2 separate regions of the Homo sapiens genome follow, and region 1 is linked to region 2. Evidence: promoter capture Hi-C in 16 types of primary human blood cells and fetal thymus (Javierre and others, 2016). All regions are on one chromosome and are shown on one strand. Each heading gives the region's core, a stretch centred on a gene start or on the middle of the fragment in contact. The rest is flanking DNA. Distances are from core to core; before and after follow the strand shown.

What was found. The method cuts DNA at HindIII sites, captures the fragments that hold promoters and counts their contacts. A CHiCAGO score of 5 or more calls a contact.
Region 1: a contact is called between a fragment that was not itself captured here and the fragment with the promoter of ASCC3 in region 2, in 1 of 17 cell types (activated CD4 T cells). The highest score is 10.2, in activated CD4 T cells.

The regions. Positions count from the first base shown.
Region 1 is chr6:79,072,753-79,076,334 of GRCh38, reverse strand. All of the region lies in intron 4 of PHIP (PHIP subunit of CUL4-Ring ligase complex), which reads left to right. It overlaps LOC124901346 (a long non-coding RNA gene), which reads right to left. Exons shown (of 2, transcript XR_007059652.1): 2 at 1-3,582. Among named protein-coding and RNA genes, the nearest start is that of PHIP, 3.7 kb to the left of the region's middle. The HindIII fragment of the contact is 522 bases long and covers 1,891-2,412 here.
Region 2 is chr6:100,879,829-100,883,244 of GRCh38, reverse strand. It overlaps ASCC3 (activating signal cointegrator 1 complex subunit 3), which reads left to right and starts at 1,916. Exons shown (of 42, transcript NM_006828.4): 1 at 1,916-2,184. LOC107984041 (a long non-coding RNA gene) reads right to left here and starts at 1,788. Exons shown (of 8, transcript XR_007059692.1): 1 at 1,591-1,788. RefSeq lists an enhancer at 1,953-2,072. The HindIII fragment of the contact is 1,558 bases long and covers 1,436-2,993 here.

The DNA of each region.
Region 1 (3,582 bases), core at 902-3,401, about 22 Mb after region 2:
ATGATTACTAATGTTACTTCATCAGAACTTCTCTAATGACTAGGAAGTTTCAGCGAGCTTAGAATGAGTGTCTTTTGTGAGGTGAAAGCAGGACATGATTATAATGGCGCTTTTTTTGGTATGTAGTGTATTTCCTAACTTTTGTGTATAAATCTCTTGTGGTTTAATATAAGATGTTGATAACCGCTCAAGGCTGTTGAAATAAGCAAGGGTACTGAGGTTTAATACATCTAATGGAGATTTAACAGTGTATTAGTGTATTCATTTTCACACTGAACGTGTGTTAATTTTCAAGGAGTGATTTGGGTTACTTTCATTCAATTCTTGGCCAAAGTGAATGGAGCTGGAAGTAAACTCCAAGATTTACTAATTTGAAATTAATTTTTAGGTTTACAAATACTTGATAGAAGTCTTCAGTGAATTTACATGTCTTCCTTGATATTTGAAAAAATTATCGCAAAGATTATAATACTCCATTTTTAAGATGGGGCAGGTTTTACAAAACTCGTCTTTGCATCTGCTTTTACATCTGTGCATCTCTTAAAAACCCACAAACCTTAAGTCACTGAGGAATGCTGCATTTTCTTAATCTTTTGGTAATGTTACATTTTTTAAATGAAGCAGCTTAATGTTATCTGGCTAAATTATGGTAATGGCTAATCCTCGTAGGAATATCATTTTGTTTTTTTGTTTTTTTTTTCAGTAAAAATGAGCTATCAATTTTGATTTTGAGTTAATTTAATTTTTGGGGGGAGGGTGGGGGGAGGAATTATTAGTAAAGTGAATTTCTATCCCTAGTCTGCATCGCAGATTTAAGATACAGTAAGCATTCTTTCTATCTATGTATTATGCTCAAAATTCACCTATTTTGAATGGAAGTGGTTTTTCTTGCTTGGAGTTTTCTCCTTACTAGAACAGGAACGTTGGCATACTCATCAGACAGTTTAGAAATCTTATTAGAACTTGGAGTTCTTTGACTCGTTTTCTCTTTTCATTCATTCAGCATATTGCTTACTCTATATCTACTGGATGCAAGGTACCATTTGAGGTGCTTTCTCATCCATCAAACTGTATATCTAGGTGTGTGAGTTAACTTTATTTTACCTTTTTAGTTGAGATTTAGTTAGGTCTAAAAACATTTGGAACACTGGATTTTTTTGTTCAATAGTTGATCTCGCTGTTTAATATCTAAGTCAGCACATGCAAAGTCTCTTGTACAGTATTTTCTATTTTAATTATTCTGACTTAAAAAGTTTTACGTTGTTGTATATCGAGTTGAATTTATTTAACATTGATTTGAAAATTACTTGTTGAGTCATTAGTTTCTACTCTACCTGGAAATGATTTGTTGTATTAACTAATAAACTGAGCAATATTTTAAATGGGAGAACTCATATATCACATCGCATTGAAATTTCTAGGAAACCTCAAATTATTGCTGCTTAAAATGGGGTGTAATATTTGTAGATGTGAATTTAAAAATAGTCACTGATCATCTGTAGTTAGTCTAGTTACAATCGCAATGGTTGAATTTTAATCAAGAGGAAAGTAGAATTTTAAGAGCAGTTTTAAAAGTTTGCAGGTTAAAATTGATGCGTTCATTTCAAGTGTGATTGAGAAAGGAAATGGTCGTATCTTATGGTTGTTTCTGTCTCTGGTATAAAACATGACTGATTATCACCATCTACCTTAAGATTTAAAACATTTTTAACAAAGTAAATGGAATTGGATAGGAAGCTAAAAGTTGTTTTTGGTACTATGGTATACGTTTAATTAGATTTTACATTTTTTAAAATATGAGATTTATTTTAAAGAAAAGGGGCACTTTTTCCAAGTATCAGAATTCTTAAACTGTAGAATAAAAAACTTTTTTTGGACGAAAGGAAAGCTTTGTCATTTGTTTATTTCTTAGTTTGAATAGTGAATCTAGTTAGTTTATTAAGTCTGCTTTCTAGTTGTCACTTAATGATGATTGCATATTTACGAGATCTAGAGGCAGAATTTTCAAGCATTTTACCGAATTTGGCACTCTCTTGATTACATTTTTTCTTGTAAGACTTCTCTTTTTTCCCCCCAAGAACTAGTTCATGTTTTGCCAATCTGTTAAAATGATTTAATTTTTTCCTTGTAAAATAGTGATACTTGCCTTTCTTAAAATTATTCCACTTTATTAGAAATCTTTTTTGTTTGTTTGCTTGTTTGTTTTAAGTGAAAGGATTGGGAGTCAGGAGATGTGGATTGTGGTTTTAAGCCCCGCTGACAGTTAAACTGTAGGTAATCTTGGGCAAGTCATGGAATTTCTCTTTGTCCCAGTTATCTCATTTGAAAAATAAGTGGATTGAAATTTTTTCAATCTGAAAATCTGTGATTTTGAACTAGAAATAGCAGTACATTGTATTTAAGAACTAAGCTTTATTTCATTCTTAGAGCTTAGTTTTCCAAAACACAGAAAAGTAGAAATCACATAGGTTACAAAATTATATAAATGCTTTTCATAGTGCCATTCTTTGGTGGTAATATCATTTCTTGTTGCAAAGATGATTTGAGACACTAACTACGTTGTAAAATGCCCCAAAATTACCATGATTTCCATCATAGTTTAAGTACTAGTTTTCATTATTGTTGGTCTCAAATTCAGAGATGAATAGGAATGATGGATAGGATTTATTTAAGTATATATCTTAGGTATACATTTATTTAGTGTGTGCTGATTAATGTGAAAGTTAAGGTATAAAACCTAGAGACAACTTTCAGGGAAAAAAAAAAGATATCATATTAAATGTTTTAGAAGTAGGGATTCCCATTCTATATTGAAGATAACATAGTTTCAACACTTGATTATTATAATTTTTTGGGGTTGGGTGAACATGTAATAAAGTAAATGTGTGTAGTTGTAGTAGAGTTACTATTTCCTTTTTTAGTAGAGTATCAATGAAATAGAAGCTTTGCGTGGTAGTCTCTAAAACAGCTTTAATCTCATATGGTCGTTATAATGATGAATAAAATATGTTAGGCGTGAAGGGTTATATGATGAATAAAATGTTAGGTGTGAATATGTTGCTGAGAGGCTGAAGGAGCATTCTTCATTCTTTCTTACATATAGAATTATTCTATTGATGCTTATACCATTTTTTAAAATTTGAGGCATTTACAAACTTTTTAAATGCAATACTTACTATATTGTTAATATTCTTAAATAGTTGTAAAGCGGCATGAGCATAAAGCGGGAGCTGGAATGTCCCTTTCCCAAACCATAATGGTTTTTATTTGATTGTTGTGAGGCAGAATCGTATTGAGGGAGTCTGTTTTCCATTCTGTAAAATGGGCTAATAATAGCTTCTACTTTGTGTGGTCTGTGAGTAATAACTGGCATGAATCAAGTACTATGTAAGGGTTTTGGTTTGCTATTATCAGAACTTTAGTAGTGGTAGTAAAGGTTGTTCTGCTTAGAGCTTTATAATAAAGTTTTCTTTAAGAAAAGCATTTACATTTTTATTCCAGGCACAAGTATGTATATACTTTCTGAACATAGAATCTGCAGTATAAAAAGGCCACATTAAAACTTCAGAAGAGTCCAGGTGT
Region 2 (3,416 bases), core at 667-3,166:
ATCCATATTGTTAAGGAAATAATGACAAGAAAAAAAGAGTCTGTGCGTGTTCAATGCAGACATTACCATTCTTTTTTTTTTTTTTTTTCAATTGTTTTTGTTCCAAAGTTGGTTGACACATATACAGAAGCCATGGATACAGAGGGCTAACTGAATTTCCTTCCAGGCCAGGACTATGTAATACAAATATGATGCAAGCCACCTATGTAATTAAAAATTTTCTAGAAGTCACATAAAAAGTAAAAATAAAGTTGAAATTAATTTTAACATATTTTATTTGATCCATTATATATTATTTCAACATGTAATCGACATAAGAATTACAATATTTTACATTTGTTTTCTAAGTCTTTGAAATCTGGTGTACATTTTGGACTCATTGCATGTCTCAGTTTGGACAAGCCACATTTCAAATGTCAAGAGACGTATTTAACTGGTGGCTACCCCAATGGATAGGGCAGTTCTAGGTAGTCTATTTTCAGTTCCTCTCTTCTCCCTTAAGCCTCTGGAACTGTGATGGGAATAATCTGTCATGTGAATTCCTAGCACTTATCAGCACCTCTCATTATCACTTGGCCTCCTTGCATTATTTATTTTTGTGATGCATTTGTCTTGTCTCATGAACTAACTTGTAAACTCTATGAAGTCCAGGACCAAAGACACATGTAATCTCAAGACTGGAAATATCTTTAACAAAACCATCAACTAATTATTCTGTTGATGTGTGGCTCCCCTGTACCAAGTCCCTATTAAGTGAGCTTCAGAATCTCCTTGAAGCAAAATTCTGTGGTTGAGGTATTCACACATGCTAAGGTAGGCAATTCTTTGGGTCGTGCTACAAGGGCATCTTCTTTTCAGGATCTTAAATCTGTTCCCTGAAGTTTGCATCACATGAAACAAATCAACTTCACATGATAGGTCATTTCATATTTGGAGAGAGTCCAGTAGTTTTCTCTCTTCTAGGTGAGTCCTGGAAGGTTTAATCAATCCTTCTTCACTTGCCCTGTTTTTGAGTTCTCGTCATCATTTTGCTCTTCCCTGATATAATGCCAGCTTGATTAAAGTCTTCAAATGCTGAACACAGCACTTCAGAGGTGGTCTGACCAGTAAAGACAATAACTGGATCACTATTGGCTGCCTCTACAAAACAGTTCTACCAGGCATCGGGGCACATTACCTTGAGGAAGCGGGAATGGCAGAAGAGAGCCACAACAAACATATTAACTCATACTATCTTTGCATTGTTGGCTTTTAGTCTAGAACTCTTTGCAGATAAACCACACAATTCTTTAGGTTAGTTTTTCTTCGTATCTTCCTATCTTTTCAATCGAGTTAGGGAATCTTTGGGCTTTCTGTTTTTGGAGGAGGTCTTCTGACCGAAGAGCCGACTTGCAGAGATCACTTTGAGGGAACTAAGCTGAGAATCCAGAAAGCTTATGGAAAACAGGCCTTGACACCAGAGAACCATGTATACTCTCTAGCAGCCAGAGGGCTTTGGCTGAAAACGACGATAGCAACTACCTGTTTCTTCATTCAAATTGCTCTCCTTTCCTTTACCTTTAATAGGAATTATTTCCTCCACATATTTACCTTACAGAGAAGGGCGGGGAGAAGACGCGGCAGACTGAAGTAAATGCAGGGAAAAAACTCACAGGTAGAGAGGTAGAGACGGCAGGCCTGGCCCGTTGCGGGCAGCCAGGGTAAAGTGGAGCGTCCCGCTCCCGCCCTGGGGCGCATCCTCGCCGCCGCCGGGACCTTCCGCCTCTGCTCCTCCGAACCCAGCGGACTAGAGGCTGGAGGCGGGAGGCGGAGCGGCGCGCGCACGCGGGCGGGGCAGAGGGCCCGGAGTCGACGAGTCGACGTGCCGACGTTGGCGCTGCAGCGGGGCGGTGACGTGTAGGCCGGCGCCAGCTCCACTCTGTCCCTCCTCGCCGGGTCTGTGCGTCTTTGCGTCTGTCTGTCTGACTGATGGTCCTCACACGCGGTTCCCTGTGACTGGGCGCGACCCCGGCAAGCGCGGCTTGGAGGGCGGACGGGGCGCGGCGATACAGCTGCCCGCTCGCATCTTTGGCCCTGCGCTCAGCTCCTCACCCGGCGTGGGAAGTTAAAGTAAAACCGAAAGGGAAGAAGGCGCGGTGGCAGGAGCTGACAGAGTGATGGGAAACGCGTGAGCCAGGCCGAGAGGTGAGGAGGTGGAGGTGGAGGTGGGAGGACGAGAAGGGTCGCCGCGGCCAGGGGAGCTGGCTGGAGGCGGGGACGGCGAGGCGGGCTACGCGACCCGCCAGAGATTCTCTTCCTGCCTCCGGGGCAAGTCCCGACCTGTCATCCTTTTCAGTGGCATGAGGTCGAGTCCGGGGTCTCGCAACAATACCGCCCATTCCTAGAGTTTGTAGGTGGGGTTGGGGATAGAAAACTTAACCTAAGCTACATATTGTCCAAGTGTTAAGCCACAACGTGACCAGATGAGGTTTTTCTGTCCCATGCATGGGTAATTTGTTTTCTTTTTTTCTGTTACAAAGCCTTGATAACTTCGTTTTCTTCACGTAGATTTGGGGAAAGAAATCTTCCTCATATTTTTCCCCCAACACACTGGAAAGTAAATAGGTAGCTGACCGTGATGGATTGTGGGTGAATTTCGCAATCAAGGAGCCTATAATGTCATTTTGAAATAAATAAATGTGTATGTGGGTGCTAGGGAGGTTTTGTGAGTACTGGGCAGTCATTTCAAATAGGTTTCTTATAAATTAACTTACTCATGGAATGCAGTGTGCTAATGGTATTTGCTATTCTTTGGTTTAAAAGAAGCATAATTCTAGGGGCTGGTAAAAGTTTGATGTGTTGTCACTTGTGCATTCAAACTCATGGTTACATTTTCTTTCTTTCCCTAGGTTAGGTGAGATTGACAGCCATTTTCTCCATCACCAGATTTTATGTTTCATAGATTGAAATCCTTTTTCTGATTCTCAAAGTTCTCAAATGTTGAGAATTAAGCTTTTGGTTTTACTATGGATTGTGCTCCAGTTTATGTTGTCTCTTTTTTTTAATGATGGTTATAATAGTCTTGCATGAGAAAAATGATCCTTAAAGATGCTCTTAAGCTTAGGCTAAATAATCCTATTTATATGAGAAATTAATTTTTCATGGTTCAGCTTTCTTGATCCCTGCTTAACAGTTTTTTGTCATTCATTCATTCAAGTCTTCCTATGTGTCAAACGCTGGGCTAGGCCTAGGAGAGCAAGAGAGAGACAGTCTCTGTGCTCATGAACTTTCTATAATCCAGCAGCCTCCTTTTAAGACAGAATCTTGACTAGGGTTCTTTCTCATGCCATGGATCTGTAGTTAACCAAAACAAAGCTTTTAAAAGAAAAAGTTATTGTCAATGTATATATGTAATTGGCATTGAAAGGGGAACAGAT